Regions from separate parts of the Homo sapiens genome. Here region 1 is linked to region 2. Evidence: promoter capture Hi-C in human tissues and cell types (Jung and others, 2019). All regions are on one chromosome and are shown on one strand. Each heading gives the region's core, a stretch centred on a gene start or on the middle of the fragment in contact. The rest is flanking DNA. Distances are from core to core; before and after follow the strand shown.

Region 1 (4,046 bases), core at 627-3,126, 130 kb before region 2:
AAAGATGGGGTAAACTGAGCACCAGAGAGAGGAAGCAACCTGCCTCGGGTGACCAGGCCATCAGCAACAGGGCAGAGTGGCACCTGAAGTGCCTGACTTCCAGGCTGTGCTTCTCTTTCTGTCTCTTGCCTACCAGCCCCTTGAGCTTGAAAAAAGTGTTCCCATCACAGTGGGATGTTGACAGTCACATCACTGGCTGACTTGGGGTTCCTTGAAAGCCCATCTTCTTCCACCACAGCAGGCTTCAAACTTTGTTTAAAAATCCCATGGAGGGGCACTGTGGCCTCTGCCTCCTCAGAGCAGTCTCTCAGGGGCTGAGGCTTTGCTGATTCAAAGCTATGTCATCACTCGCAGGGAATCTCTGGGGGAGGCCATGCCATGCCATGCCCCTACTGTGGGCATATTTGGGCAAAGTCAATAAACTAGGCCCAGATCAAGTCCAGCTCTGCCCCTCACTGTGGCACTGGGCAAGGTACCTCCAAATCTCTCTGAGTTTCAGCTTTGTCCTCAGTAAAATAGGGTGGAATCAGTCCTCATAATGTTGTAAAAAAAATTCAACAAGCCCTGTAAAGCTTTTAGAGGATTTAGCTCAAAGCTAGGCACAAAGAAAATGCAAAAGAAATGTTAGCTGTTATTATTCGATATTTTTATACATTGTTACTCATTATGACATTTCATTTCTGCATTCCCTTCTTCCCCAGGGGATGCAGTGAGGGGAGAGATTGTTGGGGTACAGTTCTTTCTGGGGACAGAGGGATGCACAAGGTAACCTTGGGGACTCCTCCCGCCCAAGTATTCTTAGATTACCTGTGCCCGCTTTGCCCCCCTTCCTTCTAGCAGTAGCTGTGGTCTCTCACAAGTCAGTTTCCATCCCAGCACCCCAGTTTCTGTGGCTCCCTGCCTGTGGTACCCACTGGCTGGATGCTGTTGCTATGGCAACAGCATTTTAAAAGCCGTCGGCCCTCTCTGAGGCAACAGGCATGGATGGAGATGGGCTGATCAACGCCTCTTGCATCTTTGGGCCTGTCTGGATGGAAGGCAGGGAGGGGAATGCAAGAATCAAACCTGGCTTTGGGTGGAGGACTCAGGCCCCAGCCCCGGGTGTTCCCCAAATGCACCCCCACTTTGCTGAGTCACACAGGAAGAGCACTTGGCTACAAACGCAGATTCCAGCCACCTGCCAGCACCAAGAGTCTATTTTAATGTCTGGGGTAGGATTCCCTAGGAAGCCTTTTGACCGGCTCTGCTCATGGCTCTGAGGCAGGCAGGCCCTAGACCACACCTGGGGAAGTCTTCAGTCTTGGAAGATTCCTGAAGCCATTTTAGGTATCAAGTGTGTGACTCTTGGCTGAGACAGCTCCTGAGAAGCCCTAGTTGTCCTCCTGTGCCTGGCCCAGGCCTGCCTCTCTCCCCTTCACAGCCTCATTGTGGGGGACCTGTGCCCCACAGCCTCTTTCTGGAGCCAGGAAAATTCAGAGCTAGGTGACCAAGAGGCCACTTCAGTAATGCATCCTACTGCAGAGGTAAGGCAAACACTTTCAGCTTAATGACACTCCAGAGAGGCGCTGGCAGGGGCCACTCTGGCCAGTATGAAGGGTGGGGCTTCTGGATGCTCCATCTAAGATCCGACAGATAGGCCCCTTCCCACGGTCCCCAACCACCAGGACCCAGCTGCCCACAGAACCCCAATGGTACTGGGCCACAGAGGCTGGGCATAGAGAAGTGGAAGTTGGGCAGGGAAGGGGACAGAAGACATTGAGTTCAGGGAGGCTTGGTGGGGAGGTGAGAGAGAGGAGGGACCTCTAAGGCGGAGAGGATTCTCTCTGGAGGACAAGGACAAGGTTCCACAGGGTTCCTTGAACTTGAGAATGAAGGTCCCATGCCTGCTGAAGAGGCCTTGTGAGACAGGGAGCACAGAAGACATGTCCTTCCTTTCTAAGCACAGGAACCGGCCTCTGGCTCCAGGAGGCAATTCTCTTTGCCAAGACCAATGGAGCTGGCTGTGCGTGCTGTCTACGAGTGCCAGCTCCTGAGGGTTGGCAGATAAATGCTCTGGATGCCTCACGCCTCAGGGGGTGTTCAAGGATTCCATGCTGTCTTTCAGAGATCTCCAGAAAGATCCAGCTACAGTTGCCAACATGGAAATTTGTATGAGGGTGGGGCACAGTGGCTCATACGTATAATCCCAGCACTTTGGGAGGCTGAGTCCAGAGGATCACTTGAGCTTGAGATCAGCCTGCCTGGGCAACATAGCAAGACCCCATGTCTACAAAAAATAAATAAATAATAAGCTGAGCATGGTGGTGCATAACTGTAGTCCCAGCTACTTAGGAGGCTGAGGTGGGAGGATTGGTTGAACCCAGGAATTTAAGGCTATGATTGCACCACTGCACTCCAGCCTGGACACCAGAGTGAGACCCTGTCTCTGGTGGGGTCGGGGGGGGTGGGCGGAAAAGGCAATCCCAGCACTTTGGCAGGCCAAGGCAAGAGGATCACTTGAGCCCAGGAGTTTGAGACCAGCCTGGGCAATGTAGTGAGGCCCCATCTCTAAACATAAAATACAATGAAGTTTTAAAAATTAAAAAAAAGAAAATTTGCTTGACAACATACTCTTTATTCCCTTTGCAGATTCGCCTCCTACTCCCCCAGCAGAGGTTCCTGGATCAGCACCAAACACACTGATCCTTAAATCCTCATCTCAGGGTCCATTTTCCTGGAATCCAAGACAAGGAAGCACTCCCGAATCTCCCCGAGGATTCTGCCTAAGGGCAACACTGGCCCTCGTACCCGAGGGGAGAGCTGTGTATGTTCCTGAGCTGCAGGTGGGTGTCTGCCTGCCTGCGAGCGAGACCTCTGGAGGGGTCTGTGCCGACAGGTCTTTCCACAATGAGAGCCTGGAGGGATGGAGCCAATCACACCATTTATTGTGCCCTGGTTCTGACGCCCACTCTTGCTATTCTGCATGGGTGAAGATCGGGTCTTCCAGGAGTTTTCTGGAGCCAGGGGCAGGTCGACAGTTCTCATCCTCCCAGCAGAGGCAGAATGTAAAACCAGTGCTCCATGGTGACGTCTCACTGGGACTGACCAGAGCTCCCAGCTACCCCTCCAGCTGGGCCCTGGCCCAGTGCTCCTGGAGGCTGGTGCGACTGAAGGGGCCTCTCAGCTAGAGGGAGGCAAGGGGACTTGTCTGGGGTGAGTCCTCAAGGGATGTCTGTGAGTCTGTCCCCTCTGAGGAGAAGCTGCCCCCAGTGAGGCGAGGGACCTGGCTCTGCCTGGGGGGCTGCTGCCGGAAGAAGGTGGTGGCAAGCAAATGCTCGCGGGCAGGGTCAGGCAGCTTGTGGGAGCCTTTGCCGTCTTCAGCCTCTGCAGCCTGGCCAGCTTCCTGGGGTGGAGAGCCTGCCTGGAAAGTTCTGTTCTGTTCCCCTCTGGGGGGCCCAGGAGGCCAATAGGACTTTGGCAAATGGTCCATGCCCAGTGAGTCTAGTGGAGGCTGATCCCACCTCCCCTTGGAAGTGACCTCTACACTCACACCCTGGCCCTTGGCTGCCACCCCTCTTCGTTCTGGGCGCGCTGAGTGAGCAGCTGGAGCCTCTGGGCAAGAGCTGTGGGTCAGTGCCTTCTCCAGGAGCATCCGGATCTCCTCATGCCTGATCCGGGCCTCCTCCCATAGCTCCTGGCCCAGGCCTGCCCGGCTCAGGGAGGCCACCTGCAGCCCCACGGCTGCGAGCTTCTCAGCAGGGAACTCAGATGCCAGTCGCTGCAGGTAGCGGTGGAGGCGGCGCTGGTCCCCAGGACTGACCCTTGAGGTCTTGTCCAGCCTGAGCTGGGCCATCAGGTCCTGACAGTCCATGTGGAACCAGGTCATCTGGGGGACAAGAAGAGAGGGAGGTGGGGGCTCAGGCTGGAAGTGGGACCATGGAGGACTGAATTAATAAGTGCCCAATGCCAGGGCCCCGCTCAGCTTGGCCATGATCTTCTCCACTGACCATGATGACCCTGGTTTCCCTCTCTTCCCTGGGGTGCACACACCTGCCATCTGGAAACAG
Region 2 (4,513 bases), core at 769-3,268:
GAGGAGACGTGCAGCTTAACCAGCACAGCGCCTGCACATAGTAGGTGCTCAATAAATATCAGTTTCTTTCCAATTTCTGCTGGGTGCTGCAAGGATCTCAGGAAATGGAAGACTCAGCCGTGCCTGCAAGGAGCCATCAGACTGGTGGTGTGGGGACTGAGGGGAGGGACGGATGAGGATCCCAACAAACCTCAGCCCCAGTGACAGGAGCAACACGGTACAGAGGAGCAGAGAGGCCTGGACTGTGGGGTTCCCTGTGCTTAACGTGGGACATTCTGATCTTAACCTCAGTGCCTGCCAGTGCTGTTTGTGACCTATTGGGAGTCACCCTGTTAATCCCACCACATTCAGTTGGTTGAGGCCATCATGAAAACCTGCCCAATTTCAAGGGAAGGGGGCAGAAACATTACCTTTTGATGGAAGGAATATCAAAGAATTCGTGGGCATATTTTTAAAGGACCACAATTATCAAAAAGCAGAGTGGTTAATGCTGTGGTGGGGAAAGCGCAAAGGGTTCTGGGACCTCAGAGGGGACCCTTTCTAGAATCCAGAGAAGCATGGGAGTGGTCAGGGAAGGCTTCCTGGGGGTGAGGGCAAAGCAGAACTCACAAATGTAAGCAGGGCTGGGGCAAAACTCTAAAAATTAAACACAGTCTGTACTATAAATTTTGTTTTCCAGAATGAAATTTTACTATCTTTACTTACTGCGAATATATGCCCGGGACCATACCCCCAAGAAAATAAAAATTTTAGAGGCTGGGCATGGTGGCCCAAGTCTATAATCCCAGTATTTTGGAAGGCCAAGCGGGAGGCTTACTTGAGCTCAGGAGTTCGACACCAGCCTGGGCAACATAGCAAGACCTCGTCCCTACTAAAATACAAAAAATTAGCTGGACATGGTGGCTCACACCTGTAGTCCCAGCTACTTAGGGGGCTGTGGTGGGAGGATCACTTGAGCCCAGGAAGTTGAGGTTGCAGCGAGCGATGTTCATGCCACTGGACTCCTGCTTGAGCAACAGAGTAGACTTTGTCTCAAAAAATGAAAAAAGAAAAAAAAATTGTACGTATCAACAAGCAAAAACTTTTTTAACACTTATAATTCTACCCCCACAACCAGAGACAATGCCTCATGACTCCTTGCTAAATATTTTCCAGATTGTTGAACATAGAAGCCTATTTTGAACCCCCCAAAATAGAACCTTACTCTATGGTGCCATCGGAAACGGATGCCTCATGACATCCCTTTCCTTGCCAAGAAATACCTTTATTTCTGCAGCCTCACTTTAAGGGGCATGTCATAATTCATTTAACCAATGCCCTTCTGGTGGATACATGAGGTTGGGTCTCACTTCTCCTGTCCTGTTTCCCACAGCATAGCAGTGGTATCTTGGAGCAGTGATTTACTGGCACACTGACTCAATTATGTATTTAAGGGCAAGTCCCTGAAATTGAATTCCTGGGTCACAGGGCATGCAACTGTTTAAACATTTGCCAATTGCCTTCCAGAAAATTTCACCACCAGCAAGGTTTGAGAAACACTGTTTTCCCATTGGGGGAAACATTTATTTTTTAAATAAACGAGCCAATATATTTTAAAAAAGAGAGTTTGGTTGGTGCCAGATGTAGCTTCACTCTCAACCCTGCCCTCTGCTGGGGGTGAGATCTCAAGGGAGCTATGTGGCTTTTTTGAACCTCAGTTTCCTCATCTGCTAAACCAGGCCTTCCTAGCCGAGCTCTTAAGAGACTGGCTGAGATGAGGCAAGATGAACAGTGATGAATATGGGGTCTTTCTGTGGGGAGGGTGGACAGGGATGATCATAGGAGTCAGGCTTCCTCATCCACTGATCTGGGCAGTGAAAACTGGCTTCTAAGTATGACCTTATGACTTCAGTGATGTCGCAAGCAGGTTCCAGTCCCTGTGCCTCCCCTTCCCGCTCCCAGGAACCCATCCAGCCTCAGGAACTGCCCCCAGCCATCGAGCCTTGGCTACTTAAGGGACCTGGGCCCAATCCACAGCTGGGACAGTCCTGGCCCACTGCACTGGGAATCTAGGATGGGGGCCTTGGCCAGAGCCCTGCCGTCCATACTGCTGGCATTGCTGCTTACGTCCACCCCAGAGGCTCTGGGTGCCAACCCCGGCTTGGTCGCCAGGATCACCGACAAGGGACTGCAGTATGGTAAGAAGCCACATCTGCTGGCTGGACTTGGCAAACCCACGCTCCAGGCTGCTCTGGGTACAGTGGGGACAGGGAGTGGGGACACAGACCGGACCCTCTCCCTGGGGCAGTGCCACCTTCTGGGTCAGGTGGCTCTGGCTCCTATTCTGGCCTTACTGCCCACCAGCTGAGTGCCCTGGGCATGTTATTTGTGGTAGTGAGGTCCTCCACCAGCCAACAGAACACAGCTTTGCGTGCAAGTAGTTGATTTGGGAAATGATTCCAGGAAACACTGTAGGGAATCGGTACTGAGATGAGGAAGGGAGGGCAGCCAGGAGAGAGTGTGCAATTAAACCAGCCACCACCTCTGATGATGGGAACCACTCAGCTGGGAAAATTCTGCGTAAAGTTTGGAAACACATGCCTCTGAACTGGAAGTCAGAATTGTGGTCACCTCTAGAGGCAGGCAGAGACCCTGAAGGGCATGAGGGAGGTCTGCCGGGGTGCTGGAAGTTGCCATATCTTGATCCAGGTGGTGATCACATTCCTGTATAAACATTAAAAATTATTTAGCAATACCTTTAAAATTTGTGCCCGTTAGGTACTTTATGTATATTATTCCTCAATTTTAAAGAATGGGCAGGCCAGGCACAGTGGCTCACGCCTGTAATCCCAGCACTTTGGGAGGCCGAGGTGGGTGGATAGCTTCAGGCCAGGAGTTCGAGGCAAGCCTGGCCAACATGGTGAAGCCTCGCCTCTCCTAAAAATACAAAAATTAGCCAGTCTTGGTGGCAGCCAACTGTAATCCCAGCTACTTGGGAGGCTGAGGCAGGAGAATCGCTTGAACCCGGGAGGCAGAGGTTGCAGTGAGCCGAGATCATGCTGCTGCATTGCAGCCTGGGCAACAGAGGGAGACTGTCTCAAAAAAATAAATAAAAATAAAACAAAGAATGAGCAAAAGTAGGAGTATTTTTTTTTAAATACTGAAACAAAGCCTCCCGACTATCCAGGTGGCATGGGAACTGGGATATTTATACACCACAGTGATTGATTGAGGGCTTCTGGGCCGGGGGTTTGTCAACTCCCCAGCACTTCTGTCCTGTTGCATGTACCTGCTTTCTGCAGTTCCAGGACAAAAAGCCTCGGGACATACAGGCTCAGGGAGGCAGACATTGGCAGCTGGGAGTCAACTGTCACTCACTGGAAAGACTCAAGGATATGGACAGGCACTGACCACATGTCTTCTCACATCCCTAGAGCCTCAATTGCCTTACCTATTAAATGAGATAACAACATTCCCTTAGATAGGGTTGTTGGGAGCCCAGACTGGCTCGAGACAGGCAGAGGGAAATCAGGGAAGGATTCCAGGATATAGTAAAATGGAAAAGACAGTGGGAATTACCCAGGGACAAGGGGTAGCGTTCCAGGCGGAAGGACCCCAACATGTGCGTTTGCTAGAGGGAGAAGAGCAAATTGGAAAGAGGTGAAAGGGGAGGCTGCTGGTCATCTGTGTACCCATGTCTGCCTTGGGGACAGAAACCTGGGCCCCTCAGATCTCGGAACAGTGGGACCTGGTAACTGCTACTTGCATTGAAACTGTAAATCAGGGAAGTTTCTCTTTTGTTCCTTTGCACTGTGCACACACACCATGTTTATGTAACCAGTCCTCTGAGGTTGGACATTTTGGTCCTTTCCATATTTTTTTTTTTTTTGAAACGGAGTCTCACTCTGTTGCCAGGCTGGAGTGCAATGGCACAATCTCAGCTCACTGCAACCTCCGACTCCCTGGTTCAAGTGATTCTCCTGCCTCAGCCTCCCGAGTAGCTGGGATTACAGGCACATGCTACCACGCCCAGCTAATTTTTGTATTTTTAGTAGAGACAGGATTTCACTATGTTGGCCAGGATGGTCTCGATGATCCACCCGCCTCGGCCTCCCAAAGTGCTGGGATTACAGGCGTGAGCCACTGCGCCCGACCCCTTTCCATATTTTTAATAATATAAACCCTATTTGCTGTTCCAGGCATTTACTGAGTGCCTGCTGTGTGTCAGGCACCAAGCTAGGAGTGCTTGTTATCCTCACAGCCCCCTTCTTGCTTTGCAGTTTCAATGGCATGCCAATGAGGAAAGTTTAGTTTAGTTTAGTTTAGTTTAGTTTAGTTTAGTTTAGTTTTGTTTTGTTTTGTTTTGTTTGAGACAGAGTCTCACTCTGTCGCCCAGGCTAGAGTGCGGTAGTGCGATCTCGGCTCACTGCAATCTCTGCCTCCCGGGTTCAAGTGATTCTCCTGCCTCAGCCTCCTGAGTAGCTGAGACTACAGGTGCCTGCCACCATGCCCGGCTAATTTTTGTATTTTTTAG

Evidence for each region. The method cuts DNA at HindIII sites, captures the fragments that hold promoters and counts their contacts. A contact is called where the count stands out against the background at its distance.
Region 1: a contact is called between a fragment that was not itself captured here and the fragment with the promoter of LBP in region 2, in 1 of the 25 tissues and cell types used here (spleen).

What each region holds. Positions count from the first base shown.
Region 1 is chr20:38,209,879-38,213,924 of GRCh38, forward strand. KIAA1755 reads right to left here. Exons shown (of 14, transcript NM_001029864.2): 14 at 625-3,865. The coding sequence ends at 3,164. Among named protein-coding and RNA genes, the nearest start is that of TGM2, 47 kb to the left of the region's middle. The HindIII fragment of the contact is 7,984 bases long and covers 1-4,046 here.
Region 2 is chr20:38,344,464-38,348,976 of GRCh38, forward strand. It overlaps LBP (lipopolysaccharide binding protein), which reads left to right and starts at 2,019. Exons shown (of 15, transcript NM_004139.5): 1 at 2,019-2,177. The coding sequence starts at 2,054. RefSeq lists an enhancer at 1-72. The HindIII fragment of the contact is 17,182 bases long and covers 1-4,513 here.